3 separate regions of the Homo sapiens genome follow, and all the other regions are linked to region 2. Evidence: promoter capture Hi-C in 16 types of primary human blood cells and fetal thymus (Javierre and others, 2016). All regions are on one chromosome and are shown on one strand. The core of a region is centred on a gene start or on the middle of the fragment in contact, and the rest is flanking DNA. Distances in the headings are between cores, read along the strand shown.

Region 1 (4,523 bases), core at 2,007-4,506, 990 kb before region 2:
AGACTACTCAGTTGTATCTGTAATACGATTATAATTTTTGTTAAATAATAGAGCAAGAATACTTGAAAGTTGTTTTACAGAGTTTTATTCTTTTCTTATCAGATATATGTAGCATAATTTGTAATATAGTCTTATTTATATTATTATTTATAATATACAAATAATATAGCATAATTTCTTATACGTTTATATTTAAAACTCAGAAACCCTCATTTGGAGCATTCTCCCATTCTTGCTGCCCAAATGAACAGGTAAAGAGTGCAAATTAAAAGATTGTTCCAGCTGGGCATTGTGGCTCATGCCTGTAATCCCAGCACTTTGGGAGGCTGAGGCAAGTGGATCACGAGGTCAAGAGTTCAATACCAGCCTAGCCAACATGGTAAAACCCCGTCTCTACTAAAAATACAAAAATTAGCTGGGCGTGGTGGTGCATGCCTGTAATCCCAGCTACTCGGCAGGCTGAGGCAGGAGAATCGCTTGAACCCGGTAGGTGGAGGTTGCAGTGAGCAGAGATCACGCCACTGCACTCCAACCTGAGCAAAAGAGCAATACTTCATCTCAAAAAAAAAAAAAAAAAAAAGGTTGCTCCACAGTCTTGCGTGGTAGGTACCAGTATTCCGACTTTACAGGTGAGAAACAGGCTGAGAGTTGAGCTAACTTATCCAAGGTCTCAAAGCTGGTACTAGCAGAACAGAGATTGACAATCACATCTTACTAGCTTTTGAATGCCTGAACTCTTTTTTCCCTTCCTGGTATCATCATGGTGAGAATCAAATGAGGCAAACATAGAAATGTATTCTGGAAATGGGGGTATTGCCCCTCCCTGGGGTTTCAGGATCACCCACTTTTCCCATGCCGTCCCACAAAGGACAGAGATCATAATTGTAAAGCTTTGTGAAAAAATAAACAAGATACTGGTAATATCCTGTTACAATTTTCTTTTTGAAAATGTCTCAGCCAGGCACAGTGGTTCACGCCTGTAATCCCAGCATTTTGGGAGGCTGAGGCAGGAGGATCATTTGAGGCCAGGAGTTTGAGACCAGCCTAGGCAACATAACGAGACTCCATCTCCACTTTTTTTTTTTTAATGTCTCAAATCTTCTGTTGTAGGGAAATTCTGATCTATGAGAGGCTGCTTGAAATAAATGGGCTACTGGCCAAGGCTTGGAAATGTTTGTGGTATGAGAAGGTCAGTTGTTATTTGGCATCGACAGATACATTATTATTGCTATTTAGAAACAATTAGTTTCTAAATATTTGAAACAATTAGTTTCAAATTATTGAAAAGGCAGTAAATGTAAAATTATTCCTTTGGAAAGACCCTATTTATAGAAAATTGTGCCTCAGGTATACATTTTGCTTACCATTAGATCTATTTCAATTCCAAAGGAATATATGGAGGGAGAGGGAGTATTTGTAGCTTCTAAAAATGTTCATGGAGGGGTGGCTTATTCTCTTTGCCCTTAGTTTAATAGAAGCAAGAGGTAGTTTGGAGTAGCAGGAAGTCAGAGATGGGTTCATTGTATCGTTATTTCTAGTCCTAGCTCTTCACTGTCCTTGGCAAGGTTCTTAACCTCTCTGGGTTCCCCTCTTCTTACCTTTCTCCTATTCTTCCCCAAGTGTGGGAGTCACACTTCAACACTATACACCCGGGAGTGTTGTGTTGTTAAAAAGTATTGTTAAATACTTTTTAAACGTGTTGAATACTTGTTAAATACTTTTTAAATGTGTATTTATTTATTTGAGTTAGTACTACATACACATGGTTCAACATGTAAAAGACATAAAGGGAAATTCAGTGCCATCTCCCTCCCACCTGCTCCTTTCTGCGTGTCCCTGTTCCAGTTCTCAGTTTTCTTTTTCAAACTCAGAAATCCCAAGAGTCTGTGAAGGGCAAATGAAAAGCAAAATGACTAGACTAAATCTGAATGAAAGGGATTTATTCTAAGGTGATACTGCTCACTGCTCAAGGTGCTTATCTGCCCCCTTCATGGGCTCCCTCAAGTTTTCTGAGACTTCAAACAGCAACACTCAACTAAACTATAAAATAGTCACAGCACCTTTTCGAGAAATTTTGACTTTGAACTTGCTAATATGCAAAGGAAATAGTCCAACCATTTCTCTAGAACTTGGTTGATAAGAAATTTTATTTTGTCCCATTTATAATTTTATTCTAAAAATTTGTTTTTTTCTGCTATCGAGTAGGAGAGAAGGGAATAAGGGAAAGATTTGTTTTTGCACTACTGTGAGATTTTTATACCTTAGGCCAGGACAAAGCACACAAGAAATAAAATATTAACAAAATGTCCTTAATTTTCCTTTCTGACCAAAATTGCTTGCCTCTGCATTTATATATAAAGAAGGGATGTGTTGAGCAAATGAAGGAGGACAGCTAGGCAGACAAGATTTGCCCAGCGCCTGGCATACAATAGGGGCACAGGTCATTGCTTAACAAAACGTATAATTTATTAATACATGCTCGAAGCACTGCTATACTAACCAAATATTCCCTGCAAAATTTTAAATTTACAGTGCAAAATAAGAATAATTTAAAAACTGTTTCTAGAAAAAGAGCTTTAAGGGCTTCCCCCCCCATAACAATTTAAGATTAACCTAGAACATGGTAGTTATTTTGCAAGAACTGGGGAGCACCACTCTCTTCTCCTTGTGCATGTCTGACATTGGAGGCCTATTGTGCACGAAGTTGTGATCAAAATCCAAGTCAATTCATTTTGAAAAGTAACATGACTACAACATCCATCCACTCCAATGAGCAAAGGGTGTAGGCTTTGAGTATACACAGCAGGCCACACACTATGGGTCATGGCATACAGTCTAGCGTTGGAGGTTGCTGCATTTGTTCATGTATCTATGAGTTAGGTTTTAAGTTTTTTCCCCCTGTTCTATTAATATAATTAATTAGTTAATTAACCCCACTCATTCATTTACTCAGTCCACAGCCTTTTGTTAAGAGCCCGCCTAGGACATAAAGATGAAGATCCAGTGCCTACCCTCATGAAACATAGAATCCGAGCGAAGAAGGCTTACTTTGCAATAGTCATCCAAGTGGTGCTTTTATGGCGCTTTACTGCTCCCGCCAACACCCAGTGCCTGGGTATGACCTCAGGCGGTGGCAGAGCCCGCGTGCGAGGTCCCGCTCTCCCTGGCTTGCCCCGGCAGGGCGGAGTCAGCCTAGCAGCCGCCGGCGCTGCCCCCGCGCGGCCTTTAATTTTGCAGCTCCGACCACCGGAAATTAGTCGAAGGCTGAGCGGACCCGGTCGAGAGCCGGCGAGCTCCGCGCAGGGAGGGTGCGCCCACCGGTCCCGCCGGGCGCCCGCGGGACGCGCCGCCAGGGCCCTCTCCGCCGGGGGCTCGGCGCTCGCCCACCTCTTCCAAATTTAACCATTACCTAAATCCGAAGGGAAATGAGCAAACCTCTCGGATTGGGTGTCAAGGTATTTTCAGCCTCGTTGGGCGTATTTATCCCCAAGTGTTTCCACAACAAGCTATTTCGGGGCCTGCGGGGCAGGTTTCGCTCTGCGGACGCCGTGGCCACTCGCCGGGCTCCAGGCCGGCGGCACCGCGGGCCGGTGATTCACGGTCCCGACCCGGGGGTGGTGCAGCCCTAGGAGGCGGCGGGGTCGGGGGTGGGGGGGGCGGGTGACCGAGGCCTGAGGGGCGGGGAGGGTCCTCGGAGCGGGGCGCCCCCCACCCCTCTCTCGCCAGTCAATCTGTGTCCTCAATCTGTGGCTTCTCTCGCTGCGGAAGTCTCCCTGGAGCCAAGAATAGTTCATTTTCTTTCAAGTCATTTCTAGTGCCTAAGTGTCCGGACCTCCAATTTCCCCCATCCCCTGCCGACCCACAGGGAGAGAACTGGGAGGACTACTAAGGGGCGCGCGGGACGGGCTGGAAAGGCCAGGCCCCCCACCGCCTGGCCACTTGCGCAAAGGAGCGCGCCCGGCCGCCCGACGGGGGTTGGGAGCAGGTCTGGGAGGGCTATGCGAGCGACTCAGTAACGCTCAGGAAGTGAAGCTTGTGGTTTTGGGGGCTGAGCTCGGAAGGAGAATTTTTTTTTTTTTTAAGTCAGAGAGATAGAGCGGTCTCTCCCGAAAGCAAGATTCCGTTTGAAAACTCTCCTAGCGCGGTGCCCGCGCCGTGACTCCGCAGGTAGGTCCGCCGAGCCTGTTCTGCGCCTCCTGCCCTGGTGGGGGCGGCCGCGGGGACTCGCAGAGCACTGGCACTGCGGGGGCGATCAGAGGGCGCGGGCGGTTTCCCACCTGCTGCGGACCGCCGTGCGGGAGCCCAGAGAGCTCCGGCAGCTGGGTTAGGGCGCGACCCGCGCAGTGTGACTGGAAATCTGGAGCTGGGGGCGCGCAGCAGGCGGTCTGGTGGTTCGGCAGGGGAGCCAAATCCACCAGGGAAGGAAACATCTGGTGGGGAGGCGGCGGCAGCTGCGCTCGGGAGGACGCCCCCTTAGCGCCCTCGGCTCCCTCCTTCCTGGGCCCGGACGGTGAGGAGAGGCC
Region 2 (4,673 bases), core at 534-3,033:
GTTTAGGTAAGTGGGATAACTGACTTCCATCAAAGCAGAAAGTATGTGATGTCATATTTTTCTAGGGTGGGGTTATAAAGAATATATGGACAAAAGGTCAAAATAAGTATCTTTTAGACAAGCACAGAATTCACTTAAGACAAAGATGGGAAAGATGATCTGGCTACCCTTTCAGAAAAAAAAAAATACAGTCAACTAGAATTCCTCTATTTAACAAATATTTATTATTAACAAATACCTACTATGTCCCAGGTCCTGTGCCAGAGCAGAAATGAAGGTACACATGCGAGTGTACAAGAGCAGGCACTGCTTGACCCTGTCTTATTCACCCTAAGGTCTGGTTTACGGTCAAAGAACATTTCATGCTGTACACTGAGATATGGTGCTTTATTATTGCTACAAACATTTCATATTTTTTTGTCTGTGAGTTCTGCTTTTGAATACTTAAGTGATGATCTCCAGTGTCAATTTCTACATTTAAGCTTAAGGCAATGTGGTGAGTAGAGATAAGAACACAGATACAAAAGAGAAATTTAATTTGGGCATCATCAAATTTCTGCATTCTTAATTACCAATACTGAGACCATAGCAACTTCAACCGTAAAACAGGTTGTATTACAGTCTTCCAAATCGCAATTCAGTCCTACATTTAGATCATACGAAGCTCTGTTTTAACACTGTCCTATAGAAACATACAATTCACTTTATAAGATTCAATCTTATTTTTTGAGAGGAATTGAAAACACAGAATTGTTGCCTGAAAAATCTTTATAACTGTACATCTTTGGATTTAAACACGTACCTGCAAGTTTAAAATTCTGCTCGTTTTTTTTTAAAGAGCCTTCAGCCTGAAACCGGTCACGCTGGGGAGAAAAAGCCATTGGCTCATCCATCTGAATCCCCAAAGACGCCTCCATCACAAGCCAATTGAGATGCAAAATGCCAGCTAAGGGGTTACATCCACAGGGGGAGCAAAGCAGCTGTGAAAATTAGAACACTAGAGAAATTTAGATCACTCGCTAAACCACGCACTAAAAACATGCTACTGCCCCCCAAAGGGGCAAACATTTTCAAACGCACGATGTGTCCAAACCTCCACAGTAGGGCATACTGTGGCCTTGTCTAAGGAATTCCATGTGCTTTATTTTCACCTATCAGAAACACCGGCAGGGGGCTGCAGGGAGAATTTCCCGGCTTGGGCACCCGCGCAGCAGCAGGCGCAGTGGGAAACGGCGAGGCTGCCAGTCCGGCACAGCCAGCGGGACCGCGTGGGGGAGGGGCCGAGCGCCGGGGGCGGTTTGAAGTCAGGAAAAGAACTGAGGGAGAAAACCTTTTCGCCACTGACAGGAAGCGCCAGGAGGCTCGTCCAAGGCCCCAAGCAAGTTGACGGAGAACTGATACGACCCTGGCCACGAGTACTGGGCGGAGGAGGAGAAGGGTGAATGAATGGGAATCCGCCGGCCAGCGCTGGCCGCGAGCTCAGCCGGGAAGGACCGGCTTCCCTCGGGCCAGAGACCGAACCAGATGCTTAGTGCGCAGGCGCGCGACTTTCCCGCCGCAGGTCGGAGGGATCCGAAGGGGGGCGGGAAAAGGAACTGCACGGCGAGAAAACCGAAGTCACGATCCAGAATTCGTTCCTAATCCCTCACAATCCCGCGCCATGGAACAAACCGTCGGAAACTCACGGTTTAAGGGAGTACGACTTCTGTGGCTCCCCAGATGCCTGGGTCGCCGTCTCCAAGAGATCCCCACCTACCGAGTCGATCGGATGCGCCTGCGCAACACTTCCCGCCGCCGCTCTGGTTGCACATGCGCACACTAAAGCCCTCGACCCCGCGGATTCCGCTACTGGGCGTTTGCGCAAGAGGGTGGGGTTTCTTCCCGCCGCCTTGGCCAGCTAGAAGAGCGGTTACGGGAATGAAGCCCGTGGATGATCTTAAAAAACAGGGTGAACCATAAGGCTAAGGGCCCAGCATGATTTCCAGGAAAGAAGCTAGCTCAGAGAAGGAAAAATCTCAGGTGCTGACACATCCCTATATACGTGGCCGGCCGCACAACACATTGGGCACTCCATGGATAAAAGGCACTTTCTTGACTCTGCTTTTATTTCCTTTTCGTTGAGTGCCCTACTTCCCCGTTAAAAACAAGCAGAAAATGTAATTGCTGATTGTTTGTGGCTGTGTTAGTAGAAATTAGCACAGTGGCAGGAAGGCAGTGTATACTATTTACTGAGCCCTTGGCTATGAGGTAGGTGGGTTTTTCTAGGGGCTGGAATCATAGTGAGCAAGATAAACACCATCCCTGTAGGAAGCTAAATTCCAATGAAGCGATGACAATAACGGATGAATAAATGAACAGTATTCTTTCCGGCATTGATTACTACTTGAGGGAAATACTGACCAGGAAGGTGGCATCTAGATGGTCAGGGAAGCCCTCTCAAAGAGACCTGGATGAGAAAGAGCTGGTAGGGAGACTGTTGTCCTGGCAAAGAAAGGATAGGGCAAATGCAGAGAGAAAGAGGAACTTGGTATGTTGCAGGGGCAGGGCAGGAAAGGCCAGTGTGGGGGAAGCATAGTGAGTGAGCCGCAAGATAGTCCCAGATAGATGAAGGTGGAGAGTTAGGCAGAAGCCAGACCAGGGTCCTTGAAAGCCAGGGTAAGAAGTTTAGTGTTTGTTCTGAGTACAATTGGAAGCTATTTGAAAGTTTTAAAGCAAGGGAGTAATATGATCTATCTGTTATGAAGAGAATGGATTGTAGAGGGGCAAGTGTGGAAGCAGAGGAAATAGGATGCACTTTATGTTTAGGAGAAACATAATGGTAGTTTGGACCAGAACAATGGCGGAAGAAATAAAAGAAAGAAGACAATGGGATTTGGTGATTGGCTATGGAAAATGAAGAAAAGGGCATCATCAACAGTGAATCTTAGGTTTTGGGCTAGCATATGTGTGGGTGGTAGTGCCACATAGAAGGGAAGTCTGTGAGGTAATGGTTTTTGATTGAGTGAGGTGGAAGAGAGTAAATCAAGGATTCTAGTGTGGATACCGAGAAAGAGAAAAGCAGACCTTGACATCCAGGAGATGGCCTGGTACTACCAGCTTGGTTTGCTGTTGCTTTGAGCTGGCCTGGCAATCACAGCCAAGCATTGGTATTCTTCTGTTGAACATAAACAATTTCACAGAACATCAGACAAGACAGAGTTGTGACCGTGATAGATCAAGACAAAAGTAAGATCACTCTATAATCATATGTGAACACAGACACAACATCAACATTGCCCAAGCCATAAAAATGATCAAATATCTCCTTATCCTAGCTAATATGAGTGCCTGCTGCTTCTTTACCAATTATAGTTTTAACCTCAGTCTAGTCTTCCTTCCTTCTACATAATACTTATTAAAATACCCAATTATAGAATTATCCTTGCTTCCTTACAGCTTCCAATCCAGGCCAAAGTCCCTCTTTCTTGCACCCTTCCGTAAATCTCCTAACACAAACTCAAATTCTATAACAAGTCCTTTTTAACACCCTCTTCCTAAGACATCCCATGGTTCCCCATGGTGTGCATTCTCACGTACTGAAACAAGCAATACATCCAAGTTGCTCAGCTATAGTTGTGTTCCTGGTGGTCATTATCGGGAGGTCGTTAACAATAATCAAGTCCAAGATATGCAAGTGATGATGTCAAAGAAACAGATGAATATATTGGTCTGGGGTATAGTTCAGGGTGAAGAAATAAACTTGGCAGTTATGAATTTATAGATGAAACCTAGTCTTGGACTATACGATATTATCTAAGCAAAGATTGTAGATGGAGAGTTGGGCTATGATAACTTCCAACATTTCATAGTTGAGCAGAGGAGGAGGAAGAACCAGCAAGAGACTGAGAAGTAGTAGTCTGTGAGGTAAGAAGGTGATGTCATAGAAGTCAAGAGCAGAAAGTTTTACAATTAGAAGAAAGTGGTCAGCTATAGCAAATGCTTCACAGAAGTAGTGAGGATACAGAATTGATCAGAGATAGTCATTAGAGCCTTCAGAAAGAGCAGCTTTGGAGTGAGACAGAAAGACTATATTGAATTTATTGACGAACAAAAGATCTACAAATGGAGACAACTCTTGAGGTTTGGTTTGTTTCTTAGTTTGGTTTCTTGTCTTTATTGGGGGGTAGGGCGCACAAATAGAATAGTGGCTACAGTGTCAAATTGTTTATAAACTTTATACTAGCCGTGTAACTTGGGCAAGTTATTCAATATCTGTGACACTCCTATTTCAAAAATGTAACATGGATAAAATACTTGCTTGGTTTTGCTATAGGGATTAAATTAGATAAAGTGACATAATACATGTAAAGTGCTTGGTCCCATAGGCCTGGACATTGTTAGCTTGTATTAGTTAATTTATAATGGGTACTTTTTCCCCCTTTGTCAATGATCCCATCCCTAATACCTAGCACATGGCTGTTCACATAGTATGGATTTAATAAATGGCTATGGAATTAATGTACAATGAGAAGTTAGGTTTTATTTATTTATTTTTATTATTCATTCATTTATGTATTTACTTAGTAGAGACAGAGTCTCGCTCTGTTGCCCAGGCTAAAATGCAGTGGCATGATCATGAATCACTATAGCTCCGAGGCTCAAGCAATTCTCCTGCCACAGCGTCCCAAGTAGCA
Region 3 (4,562 bases), core at 1,426-3,925, 810 kb before region 2:
TTATTCTGAAAATCCTAGGGCCCCTAAGAATTATGCTAAATCTACTCTGCTTGTGTTCCATAAATGGAACAGCAAAGCCTAAACGACTGCACATCTGTTTACAGCATGGCTTACTGAATATTTTAAGCCAACTGTTGAAACCTACTGCTCAAAAAAAAAAAAAAGATTCCTTTCCAAATATTACTGATTATTAACAATGTACCTAGCCACCCAAGAACTCTGATGCAAATGTACAAGATTAGTGTTGTTTTCATGCCTGCTAACACAATATCCATTCTGCAGCCCATGGGTCAAGGAGTAATTTCAACTTTCAAGTCTTAAGACATACATTTCCTAAAGGTATAGTTGCCATAGAGTGATTCCTCTGATGGATTTGGGCAAAGTAAATAGAAATCCTTCACGAAAGGATTCACCATTCTAGATGTCATTAAGAACATTTGGGAGTGGGCACAGTGGCTCATGCCTGTAATCCCAACACTTTGGGAAGCCAAGGTGCGTGGATTACTTGGGGCCAGGAGTTCGAGACCAGCCTGGCCAACATGGCAAAACCCCCATCTCTACTAAAAATACAAAAATAAGCCGGGTGTGGTGGCGCATGCCTGTGGTCCCAGCTACTTGGGAGGCTGAGGCATGAGAATCGCTTGAGCCTGGGAGGTAGAGGTTGCAGTGAGCTGAGATTTCGCCACTGAACTGAGGAGGCAGAGGTTGTAGTGAGCCAAGATCGCGCCACTGCACTCCAGCCTGGGTGACAGAGTGAGACTCTGTCTGAAAAAAAGAAAAAAGGAAAAAAAAAAAAAGAACATTTGGGATTCATGGGAGGAGGCCAAAATATCAACATTAACAAGTGCTTGGAAGAAGTTGATTGTAACCCTAATGGATGACTTTGAGGGGTTCAAGACTTCCGTAGAGGTAGTCACTATGGATATGGTGGAAATAGCAAGATAAGAATTAGAAGTGGAGCTTGAAGATGTGACTGAATTGCATCAATCTCATAATCCAACTTGAACGGATATACAGCTGCTTCTTATGGATAGGCAAAGAAACTGGTTTCTTGAGATGGAATCTACTCCTGATGAAGGTGCTGTCAACATCGTTGAAATGGTAACACAAGATTTAGAATATTCCATAAACTTAGCTGATAAGCAGCAATGAAGTTTGAGAGGACTGACTTCAATTTTTTTTTTTTTTTGAGACACGGTCTTGCTCTGTTGCCAAGGCTGGAGTGCAGTGGTGTGATCTAACTCACTGCAACCATGAACTCCTATGCTCAAGTGATCTTCTAGTCTCAGCATCCCAAGTAGCTACAAGGACTACAGTTGTGTGCCACCACACCCAGCTAATTTTTTATTTTTTAAATACTTTGTAGAGATGGGTCCCTCTATGTTGCCCAGGCTGGTCTCAAATGTCTTGTTTAAGTGATCCTCCTGCCTTGCCCCGCAACAATGCTGGGATTACAGGCATAAGTCACTGCTCCTGGCCGGACTCCAATTTTGAAAGATGTTCTGCTGTGGGTAAAATGCTATCAAACAGCATCTAATGCTACAGAGAAATCTTTAGTGAAAGGAAGTCGATCAGTGCAGCAAACCTGGGGTTGTCTTATTTCAACAAATTACCACAGCCATCCCAACCTATAGACACCACCACCCTGATCAGTTAGCAGCCATCCACATCAAAACAGGACCCTTCACCAGCAAAAAGATTAATACTTGCTGAAGGCTCAGATGATCAGTAGCATCTTTAAGCAATAAAATATTTTAAAATTAAGGTATGTACATTATTTTTTAAAGATATAACGCTACTGCACATTTAAAAGACTACAGTATAGTGGAAACATAACTTTTGCATACACTGGGAAACAAAATCCATGATTGCTTTATTGCTTTAGTATAGTGGTGGTCTGGAACCAAACCTGCAATATCTCCAAGATATGCCTGTACTTACTGGCTTTCACAATAATGTAAGAAAGACCAAATTAGGTCAAATTCAATATTCTGTTTCCAAATGGTGTGTAAGGTCATGGCATCCTCAGTGATGCCAAGTTCAAATTGTTCAGGACATGCTCTAAAACATGCCTGGTTTTTCTTCATAATTTAAAAGCTTTGATCTACATTTTATCAGCCTTCACTTTTACAGACTAAAGAGATCAAATTATTAAAGTCAGTAACTTTATTCAAAATTATTGAGACAGACCTTTCTACAAGGTAGTATAAGTTTCTCTAGTCTTAAGCAGATAATTTTAATTTTCATCATTTTAATAAATATTTCCTTATGTAGAAAACTTTCTCTATAGTAGCAATGACTAATGACACAATTGGCTTAGAACTGTAAATCATTAGAACCAAAGGGAACTCGGAAGTTGAATGCAACTTTTTCCTTTTACAAATGAGGAAACTGAGACTTAGTGTTGAGAAGCAGGTTTCCTACAGTAAAACAACCAAAAACGTGAGCTAAATCCAACAAAACAGCGCTCTTCAAACTGCAGATCAGGACCAATCAATTAAGTAGGTTGCTGCCAGCATTTTAAAAAAGCAACAGAGTAGAAAATATCAGAGGCATTTCATGTAGTAAGAATAATATTGTTTCACAGAAGTTTTGCTTTAGTTTTAGTTATATGCATATATGAGATAATGTAAAATGCACTTATTATAGTGGTCGAAAGTTTGGAAGTCATTTCAATAAGATATCTAATCTTTTGGGTGGATTTAACAATTTATTCTTAGTCTCGTTCTGTTGCCCAGGCTGGAGCGCAATGGTGTGATCTCGGCTCACTGCAACCTCTGCCTCCCAGGTTCAAGCGGTTCTTCTTACTCAGCCTCCCAAGTAGCTGGGGCTACAGGCATGTTCCAGCACTCCTGGCTAATTTTTATATTTTTAGTAGAGATAGGGTTTTGTCATGTTGGCCAGGCTGATCTTGAACTCCTGACCTCAGGTGATCCACCAGTCTCGGCCTCCCAAATGCTGGGATTACGGGCGTGAGTCACCACACCTGGCCATAAAAATTTATTATTATTTTAAAATTATGATTATTAAAATTACTATTATGATGCAATTTATTCTTTATCATGACTCATTGTAAGCTAATAAAAATATCTCTGCATTAAATACTACATGCCACCATTTAAAAGAAGCAATTTTTTCCTCCCTAAAGGAAGACTGACTCAGGATATTGTATCCCATGCCATATGTAAACAGACATTCTTTAAAATATCACATTTCTGTAGAGCTTAAATGTGCAATAGCTAGACAAGCTTTTAAAAATACAAAATTCTAGAATTCTGATCCTTGGCACAGGTAAAAAGATGTCTGAAAAAACAGTGACCTCTAGTGGATTCATTAAATAGCATGGACATAATCCCTGCCCCTAAGAATTTGGAAATTAAGGTAACACAAATGCATCCAGATATAAAAGATACTGATATGGTTATACACTGACAAGTGTTATATATAATTAAGGGCTACAGTTATGCTATACAATGAGGCAGATGCATATATATAGATTATTCACTGTTTCCTTCTAATCAAGTGGAATATAATAAATAGAATCCTGGTCTCATACGGATCACTAGTTTAAGAAATACACTTAATGAAGGGGTTGGATTAAATCTCTCTAAGGACCCTTTTAGCTCTTTTAATTATGATTCTTCTTTAATTCATTTTGTACACCAATATCAGAATAAATTCTGCTCAAAAACATTTGATGGCTCCCCAATACTTGAGGGTTTACCACACTCAGCCTGGCCCTTTGTTATTTACCTATTGTTATCTTCTCGTTTCCCAAATTTCAAGTGGGCCAATGTTCAATATCCCAACCCATTCCCACAAGTTTATTTTCTCACTTTTGCTCACAGTTTCTCATTATGCAATGTCCTAACCTTGCTAATTTATAGGACAGGTCCCCATTAAAGTCAACACAAACTTGTTTAATTCATGTTCTGGCATCCAGTGATTGTTAAATTCACAGGTTGGGTTTTATACTTGTATATGTGTATGTGTATGTGTATGTGTATGTGTATGTGTATGTGTATGTATATGTATATGTGTATGTGTATGTGTATGTGTATGTGTATGTGTGTAGCCTGCCAGGTACTAAGCACTTACTGCACAATTTAAATGTAAATTAAGTTGATTCATTTAGATTAGAGAAACAAAGTCCATTTTTTTTTTTTTGAGATGGAGTCTTGCTCTGTCACCAGGCTGGAGTGCAGTGGCACGATCTCAGCTCACTGCAACCTCCGCCTCCCAGGTTCAAGCAATTCTCCTACCTCAGCCTCCTGAGTAGCTGAGACTACAGGCATGTGTCACCACGTCCAGCTAATTTTTGTATTTTTAGTAGAGACAGGGTTTCACCATGTTGGCCAGGATGGTCTCGATCTCTTGACCTTGTGATCTGCCCCCCTCGGCCTCCCAAAGTGCTGGGATTACAGGTGTAAGCCACCACGCCCGGCACAAAGGACATTTTCATCTTTCTTTTTTAGTGAGGTAGTGAAGGGTATATAGCTAAGGTAGAATTTCAAGAACTGCAAATATAAAGTAAAAGGGCTTCAAGTTTTGGGAAACAGTGA

The links. Contacts are between HindIII fragments. The CHiCAGO score rates a contact against its expected background, and 5 or more counts as called.
Region 1: a contact is called between the fragment with the promoter of GFI1 here and the fragment with the promoter of CDC7 in region 2, in 3 of 17 cell types (fetal thymus, total CD4 T cells and naive CD8 T cells). The highest score is 8.5, in fetal thymus.
Region 3: a fragment that was not itself captured here is called in contact with the fragment with the promoter of CDC7 in region 2 in 2 of 17 cell types (fetal thymus and total CD4 T cells); the score reaches 6.7 in fetal thymus.

What each region holds. Positions count from the first base shown.
Region 1 is chr1:92,485,658-92,490,180 of GRCh38, reverse strand. GFI1 (growth factor independent 1 transcriptional repressor) reads left to right here and starts at 3,256. Exons shown (of 7, transcript NM_005263.5): 1 at 3,256-3,455. RefSeq lists enhancers at 3,050-3,099, 4,000-4,149, 4,072-4,523 and silencers at 3,220-3,429, 3,520-3,629, 4,250-4,299, 4,500-4,523. The HindIII fragment of the contact is 3,142 bases long and covers 893-4,034 here.
Region 2 is chr1:91,497,961-91,502,633 of GRCh38, reverse strand. It overlaps CDC7 (cell division cycle 7), which reads right to left and starts at 1,783. Exons shown (of 12, transcript NM_003503.4): 1 at 1,686-1,783; 2 at 803-980. The coding sequence starts at 917. It overlaps LOC105378856 (a long non-coding RNA gene), which reads left to right and starts at 1,786. Exons shown (of 3, transcript XR_947599.4): 1 at 1,786-4,119. RefSeq lists an enhancer at 942-1,141. The HindIII fragment of the contact is 5,865 bases long and covers 485-4,673 here.
Region 3 is chr1:92,309,046-92,313,607 of GRCh38, reverse strand. The region is part of intron 6 of RPAP2 (RNA polymerase II associated protein 2); the gene reads right to left. It also overlaps a transcript of GLMN not described here. Among named protein-coding and RNA genes, the nearest start is that of RPAP2, 12 kb to the right of the region's middle. The HindIII fragment of the contact is 1,151 bases long and covers 2,100-3,250 here.